Regions from separate parts of the Homo sapiens genome. Here region 1 is linked to region 2. The links are contacts of gene promoters, found by promoter capture Hi-C in blood cells and fetal thymus (Javierre and others, 2016). All regions are on one chromosome and are shown on one strand. The core of a region is centred on a gene start or on the middle of the fragment in contact, and the rest is flanking DNA. Distances in the headings are between cores, read along the strand shown. Region 1 overlaps NAV1 (neuron navigator 1). Region 2 holds the start of PHLDA3 (pleckstrin homology like domain family A member 3).

What was found. The method cuts DNA at HindIII sites, captures the fragments that hold promoters and counts their contacts. A CHiCAGO score of 5 or more calls a contact.
Region 1: a fragment that was not itself captured here is called in contact with the fragment with the promoter of PHLDA3 in region 2 in 2 of 17 cell types (M1 macrophages and monocytes); the score reaches 6.7 in M1 macrophages.

Annotation. Positions count from the first base shown.
Region 1 is chr1:201,791,605-201,794,879 of GRCh38, forward strand. NAV1 (neuron navigator 1) reads left to right here. Exons shown (of 34, transcript NM_001389617.1): 18 at 2,188-2,271; 19 at 2,862-2,973. All of the region lies in intron 2 of IPO9-AS1 (IPO9 antisense RNA 1), which reads right to left. Among named protein-coding and RNA genes, the nearest start is that of MIR1231, 15 kb to the right of the region's middle. The HindIII fragment of the contact is 4,337 bases long and covers 1-3,275 here.
Region 2 is chr1:201,467,200-201,470,538 of GRCh38, forward strand. It overlaps PHLDA3 (pleckstrin homology like domain family A member 3), which reads right to left and starts at 1,989. Exons shown (of 2, transcript NM_012396.5): 1 at 1,142-1,989. The coding sequence starts at 1,587. The coding sequence ends at 1,204. RefSeq lists enhancers at 1,169-1,228, 1,299-1,438, 1,660-2,374, 1,889-2,008 and silencers at 1,509-1,818, 2,029-2,258. The HindIII fragment of the contact is 14,509 bases long and covers 1-3,339 here.

The DNA of each region.
Region 1 (3,275 bases), core at 13-2,512, 320 kb after region 2:
CCGCAGTAGTTTCTGGTTTTCTCTCTGCCCTTCCTCTCTGGGGAACCCAGCTGTCAGGCCTGGGGTCTATCCGTCGGAATTAGGTAGAAGAATCTCCACCAAGATTCTGAATGTTTCCAACACATTTCAGCAGCAGTTCCCTCACCACACTAGTTATTCTCTCGATTCTCTTTTCCCAAACCCTCAATTCATAAGTTGTACCAGTTTGTTTGAAGCTCATGTTAAGCACTTTTTCCCACTCTTGGGGGACCCATAAGAATTGTAACATAAACAAGAACCATCTTTTCTCTCCCTTGTGCCACACCCACCAAAGCAAATGGCCTGGGTCACGTCCTGCACACCCCAGGAAATTCATGTCTGGGAGATGCTGGGGGGGAGAGGCGCCAGGGAGGCAGAGAACATTATTATGTCTGATTCATTTACACTGCAATCTGTCAGCCACCATGCTGTCAAGGCTGGGCTGAAGCCAAGAAATTGAATTTAGAGGGTGATTTTTCTTAGAACAGGAAGTTCCATTTGGCTAAGAGAGAACAAACTAAACACCCAGACACGGTGGGTTCTGCATCTTAAAGGCAGATTTTTGCCGAGGGTCAGAACCCTGCCCTCAAGCAGGAGATGGGATGCTGGGACTCTAGGAAGGTTCCACAGCTCTCTTCAGGATTCCGTGACTCCAAACCAAACTTTTGTCATGTTCCATGGAACTTCCTAGCCACTAAAGCTGAGGGCACACCCTAGATGTAGGGGCCCAGACCACTTTACCCCTCTCAAATGCTAGCCTTTCTGCAGCACCACTGCTTAGCCCTGAGGTCTTACAGGTACCCTAGTCTGGGGTTGGGATTAAGGGAAGGGTCAATGTAGGGAGAGGAAGTGTAGGGGAGAGCGGGGAGAAAGCCCAGCCAGAGCAAAAGGGTTCCCCTGGATGGGGAAAGGCAGCACAGAAGAGCATACAGGGGTTCTTGGGGCCTCTCATGAGTAGTCTTCCAGGGACTACAAGGAGTCTACAAGCAGACATGCAGGATGTAGAGAAGCAAACCAGAGAAGACCTGAGGTCAAGAAGACAGATGTTGCCTGCACAGTGGGTGAAAGGAAACTGCTCAGGTTGTGACATATTATAATCTCCTCAGAGCCCAGGCCTTGACAGATTTATAGTAAAAGTGCAAGAGGAGGCTCTAACTGGACTAAAGGGATTGCCTCCAGCCCTGGTCCTATGAAGTAGGCTCCAGACATGCGGAGCAGTGGATGAAAACTAGAGTTGACCCAACAGGGAGGGAGAATTGTAAGCCAGTAGGAGCCATGAGAGTGCCGTCGATTTCCTAGAGCTCTGCATGAAGGAGCTGCGCAGAGTATGCCCACTTCTTGCTAGGGTCACCAACTTGCTCAGATAGTCTCACGATGGCTATTTCTCCATCCCCAAGTGCTCCCCTTTCTAGCCCCCGGCCTCATTCCCTTTACCTTGCCTATACATCTTGCAGCCAGTTGGCCAGCTAGAGGTCAAACTATGCCAAACCAAGTGGCCTTAGCTCCTCCACTGAGCACCTTTCCGAACTAGCCTGCCTCTTATCCAGAGAGCCCTTTGGTATCCTTCACTCCTCATGAAACAGACCTGACACCTAGTGGCCAAACGGTGGAATGCCTCTGCAGTTTCCTTCCAGCCTTGCAAACCTGGAGAATCCGGGAACAAGGAGCAGCTGCAAAGCAAGAAAGGGTGAAGCAGTGGAGTAGCAGAGGAGGAAGAAACGCACCAAATAGTTTCTGCCAGGAGATTATTTGGTCCCTTGGGGGCCGGCCCACTCCACAATGCAGGAGTTAAACCAAAATAATAGGAACGACCCCAGAGGCTATGGCCCGCCTACCAAGTTGGCCACACCAAATATCACATAGAGCAGAGGGATAGTCCTACCTCTGGTAGTTGATAGGTTTTAGATCTCAAGTCTCCAGGAGCCTCTGGAAACCTGCCCTACCCTCAACCTGGCTTCATTATTCAAGAAGCTGGTTCCCACCAGAAAATTTCTTTGATTTCCCCTTTGTCTGCTCAGGAAAATCAATATTTTTTTAACCACCAAGAGGTTTGCTGGCATTGGTCAGCTCCGAGATACAGGAAATCAGTTAAAACTATTTCCCATTGTCAGTTATTGCCTTTCCCCCAGCCTTATGCAACTTAGCAATCTCTTTCTGTGTTTGTTTCAGGCTAATCTGGTGGCTGCTTTTGAGCAGAGCCTGGTGAATATGACATCCCGCCTGCGACACCTGGCAGAGACGGCCGAGGAGAAGGTGAGAGGCCTGGGAAAGGGTGGGAGGGGTGGGTGCGGCGAGGGGGTTCTCCTGGACAGAGAGGCCGAAGCTGACCATCTGTTCTTGCTCATGAATGCCAGTTTCTCCCCACCTCACTGTCACCCTGGATTCTCAATCTGCCCCCCAATACAGTGTGAGCATATTCCTTATCCCAATTCCTTGCCCTTCTCTATCAAGTTTTGCAGAATTCCAATGCCTCGCCCATTGCCTGACACATCATAAGGGCTCAGGGCTCCTGCTAATCCCAACTAATGACGCTGTTTTCTTTTTTTGAGATGGAGTTTCGTTCTTGTCACCCAGGCTGGAGTGCACTGGCGCGATCTTGGCTAACTGCAAACTCTGCCTCCCAGGTTCAAGCGATTCTCCTGCTTCAGCCTCCCAAGTAGCTGGGATTACAGGTGCCCGCCACCACGCCCAGCTAATTTTTGTATTTTTAATGGAGACCAGGTGGCCAGGCTGGTCTTGAACTCCTGACCTCAGGTGATCCGCCCACCTCGGCCTCCCAAAGTGCTGGGATTATAGGTGTGAGCCACCGTGCCCAGCCAACGCTATTTTCATTTCTCTCTTAGGACACTGAGCTGCTGGATTTGCGAGAAACCATAGACTTTCTGAAGAAAAAGAACTCTGAGGCCCAGGCAGTCATTCAGGGAGCCCTTAATGCCTCAGAAACCACACCCAAAGGTAGGACATCCAGCCACAGATTGAGAGGGAACAGGGAGCAGGAAAGTAAGAGTATTACAGATTTTTATCTGGGCCCATAGTATTCCAAGTCCTATATCAAGTCTCTAGAAGGTGAGGGCCTTTAGATACCCTTTAGTGTGATGTCTGGACTGGTCAGTGAGGAGTACCAGGGGCATGACCCCAGCTTCCTAGGGCATGAAGGCAAGTAGAGGAGACCTGTAAGCCCCAGGGGTCCTCTCCTTAACCTTTACCTCACGGCCAAAGAGCCATCAAAGACCATCGTTAAAATAGCCCTTTACATT
Region 2 (3,339 bases), core at 739-3,238:
TGGAGGCTGAGGTGGGAGGATCGCTTGAGCCCAAGAGGTTGAAGCTGTTGAGGCTGCAGTGAGCCATGACTATGCTACTGCACCAGTCTGGGCGACAGGTAGAGATCCTGTCTCAAAAATATATATATAGGCTGGGTGCAGTGGCTCACACCTGTAATCCCAGCACTTGGGGAGGCCGAGGCAGGCAGATCACCTGAGGTCAGGAGTTCAAGACCAGCCTGGCCAACATGGCGAAACCCCATCTCTACTAAAAATACAAAAATTAGCAGGGTGTGGTGGCAGGCACCTGTAATCCCAGCTGTTCTGGAAGCTGAAGCAGGAGATTTGCTTGAGCCCAGGAGGTAGAGGTTGCAATGAGCCAAGATCACACGACTGTACTCCAGCCTGGGTGACACAGCGAGACTCTGTCTCAAACAACAACAACAACAACAACAAACCATACACACACACACACACACACACACACACACACACACACACACATATGTAGAGGAGGAGCTGGATCCCTCAGGCCCAGTCCAGCCAAGGCGGCCCACTGAGGCCCCACCTTCCACTGAGGCCCCACCTTGGGAGCCGGACTCCTTGGCTCTATTTGCAACCCTTGATGGTGCCTTCGCCATCTGGGAGATACTGTCTTTCTACATCAATTCAATGCTCAAACTTTATGACAAGCATTCAACCTAGAGGGAAAGAGGGTCGGCCTCCACGATCCGCGTCCCCACCCTCGGTTGTCCTCAGCTGCCAGAAAGCCGAAGTCCAGGAGCCCTGCTCTGCGTGGAAAGCAGAGGCCCACAGCCTGGGGCAATGTGCAGGCCAACCTCCCTCTACTTCCTTCCACCTGAGTCAGGGCTGAACCAACTTGAAAGAAGGCTCATCTCACCCAGGTATCCCCCTCCCAGGGCTTCCATCTTCCTCTCACACACCTGGATCACATTCTGGACCGGCCAACCTGGTGCCTCAGGGGAAAGTCCGGATCTGCTGGGTTGGCCACTGGCCCAAGCCTCCCATGCCCTCAGTTGGCCCCAGGAACCTCCCCCCTAAGATGTCCGGCTCTGAAGTAGAATGCTAGTCCTCATTCTCTCTGTAGGGGAAAGAGAAGGGAGGGAAGGAGAGAAGAGGGCCCAGTCCCCCGGGGGCTTACCTGCCTTGACCTCAGCACTGAGGTGGTGGGTAGCATGAAGGAAAGATGGTGCGCCCGGTGGTTTAGGACACGAGGGTCCCGGTCCCGAGGCTCTGCCGGGCCCGCACTGTCTGGATGGCCTGCTGGTTCTTGAACTTGACCAGGCCTAGGGTGATCTGGGCGTTCCAGCCGGGATCTTCCAGGGGGCAGCGGAAGTCGATCTCGCCGCCCCCTTCGGTCACCAGCGTGAAGTAGATGTGGCGCCCGGTGCTCTCCACGCACTCCACGGCCTTGATGCGGGCGAAGCTGAGCTCCTTGGGCCGGCCGCCCGTGCCCTTGGCCTCGAAGAGCTGCAGCCCGCGTTCGGTGAGGACGCAGCGCTTCCGCTTCCACAGCTGCAGCAGCCCGCCGCTGCGCTTCTCCAGCACGCCCTCCTTGAGCACGGTAGCCGTCGCCGCCGCCGTCATGGGCGCCCCGAGGTTCGCGGAAAGCTCCAGGCTGCGGCGGGCGCGGCGCCCCTCTCGGCCCCGCAGCGCAGGATTCTGGCGCCCCGGGCTGGCAGGCCGTGCGCGCTGCCCACCTGCGCCCTGACTGCTCCGCGCACCCACACCGCGGCCCTCAGCACCCGGCTGCCGGTGAGGTGGTGTCGGTGCCCCCAGCGCGCTCCGCGCCCACCGCCCCGCTTCAGCCGGCACCCGCTCCTCCGCTCTACCCCAGCTGGCCCAGCCCGACCCGCCTCTGCCAGATGCCTCCGCGCCTCCCTAGGCCGTGAGCCCCACCGCCCGCCCGTTCTCTTGCTCCCCTGGGCTCTGTCTGCGCGCTGGGCGGCAGCTCGCGGGATGTGCCCTTACATGTTCCGCCGCTCGCCTCCTGCGCCGCCCGCCCGCAGCGCATTCCTACCCTGGCCGGCCCTCCCCTCCGCGCCGCGCACCAGCTCCGGCAGGGCCCCGGGGGCGGGGCCGCAGCGGGGGCTCAGTCACTCACTGGAGGCGCAGGGCGCGGGGCGGGGAGGGCCGGGACTGAGAGGGGGCTGCTTACTCAACAGCCCAAGCCTTCTGGCTGCCGTCTGCCGCTTCTCGGAACCGCAGCTCCCCCAGGCCTTGAATGAAGGGGGAGATGGCGGGGAAGGGAGGGGGAAGGCGCATCTCCTCGATTGGAGAGCGCGCTGCTAGCAAGGGGGTGGGCTTGCTTGGCGAACGCGCAGTGGCACCAGTTGCATGTTAGGCGTCAGACAGCTGCTGGTTACTTGGCACGCCATGGGGCCCCCAGCCTCTGCATCAAGCCCATGTTGGGTTCCTCCTCCATCGCCCGATTTCTCTGTGCAGCACCCAAGAGAGGCTGTCCATCGCTGCCTCTGCTTGGACAGTTCACCTGCTCCTACTCCTACCCCCATGCATTGCGCGGGGAGGCCTGTAGAGAGTAGCCAGTGCCAACAAAGGAGAGCTGAGGCTTGAGGTCATTCATGCCCTCCTCGTAGTGGGGGAGGAGGGACCCCCTCCGTGACCTGGGGATGCCACTGTCTGCAGTCCTCTCCACCGCACACTTGCAGGCGCCGACGCTGGACCGATGGCACAGCCAGTCCCAGGTGTAAGCGCAGCTCCAACCTTGCTCCTTCCGCTCCGCAGATTCTGTCCTCCCTCGGCCTTCCCCAAGAATGGACTTCTCCCGCATACAGAGCTGGAGGGGAACGCAGAGGGAGAGGTCTCTTTCTGTTCTGGCTAGAATATTGTGTAAACACAAGAGCTTTGCAGAGTTGAGTTCAAACCTCTTCTCCCTTGTTGGCTGTGTCCTGCCCACCTGGGGCAACTTTACTGACCTCCGTCAATTTCCTCATCTGTCGAATAGGAGGATTAATTTATTCTCATCTCATGGGGTTGTCCTGATGAATAAGTTGGATAACATTTGTGAAAGACCCAAGACAGGACCTGACAACTCTTGAGTCTCAAGAAATGTTCTTCCTCCCCTCTCCCCACTCTTATTCCCTTTAGAGAATGATGGGGGCCCTGAGATTAAGCCAGGCACTGGAAGAGGGCTCTCTTAGGTCCTCATTCTGTCCCCATCTTGATCAGTTCCTCCAGGCCCACAGTTTCTTAAAGGTCTATTCATCAACATGTTAATAATAGATTCTTACGGGAGTAATGATATATAATAATGACAGTAATAAGACCTCTTTGTACTTACACCCTGTGTTGCCATCCTCCTGCCCAAAGAGCAGAGCC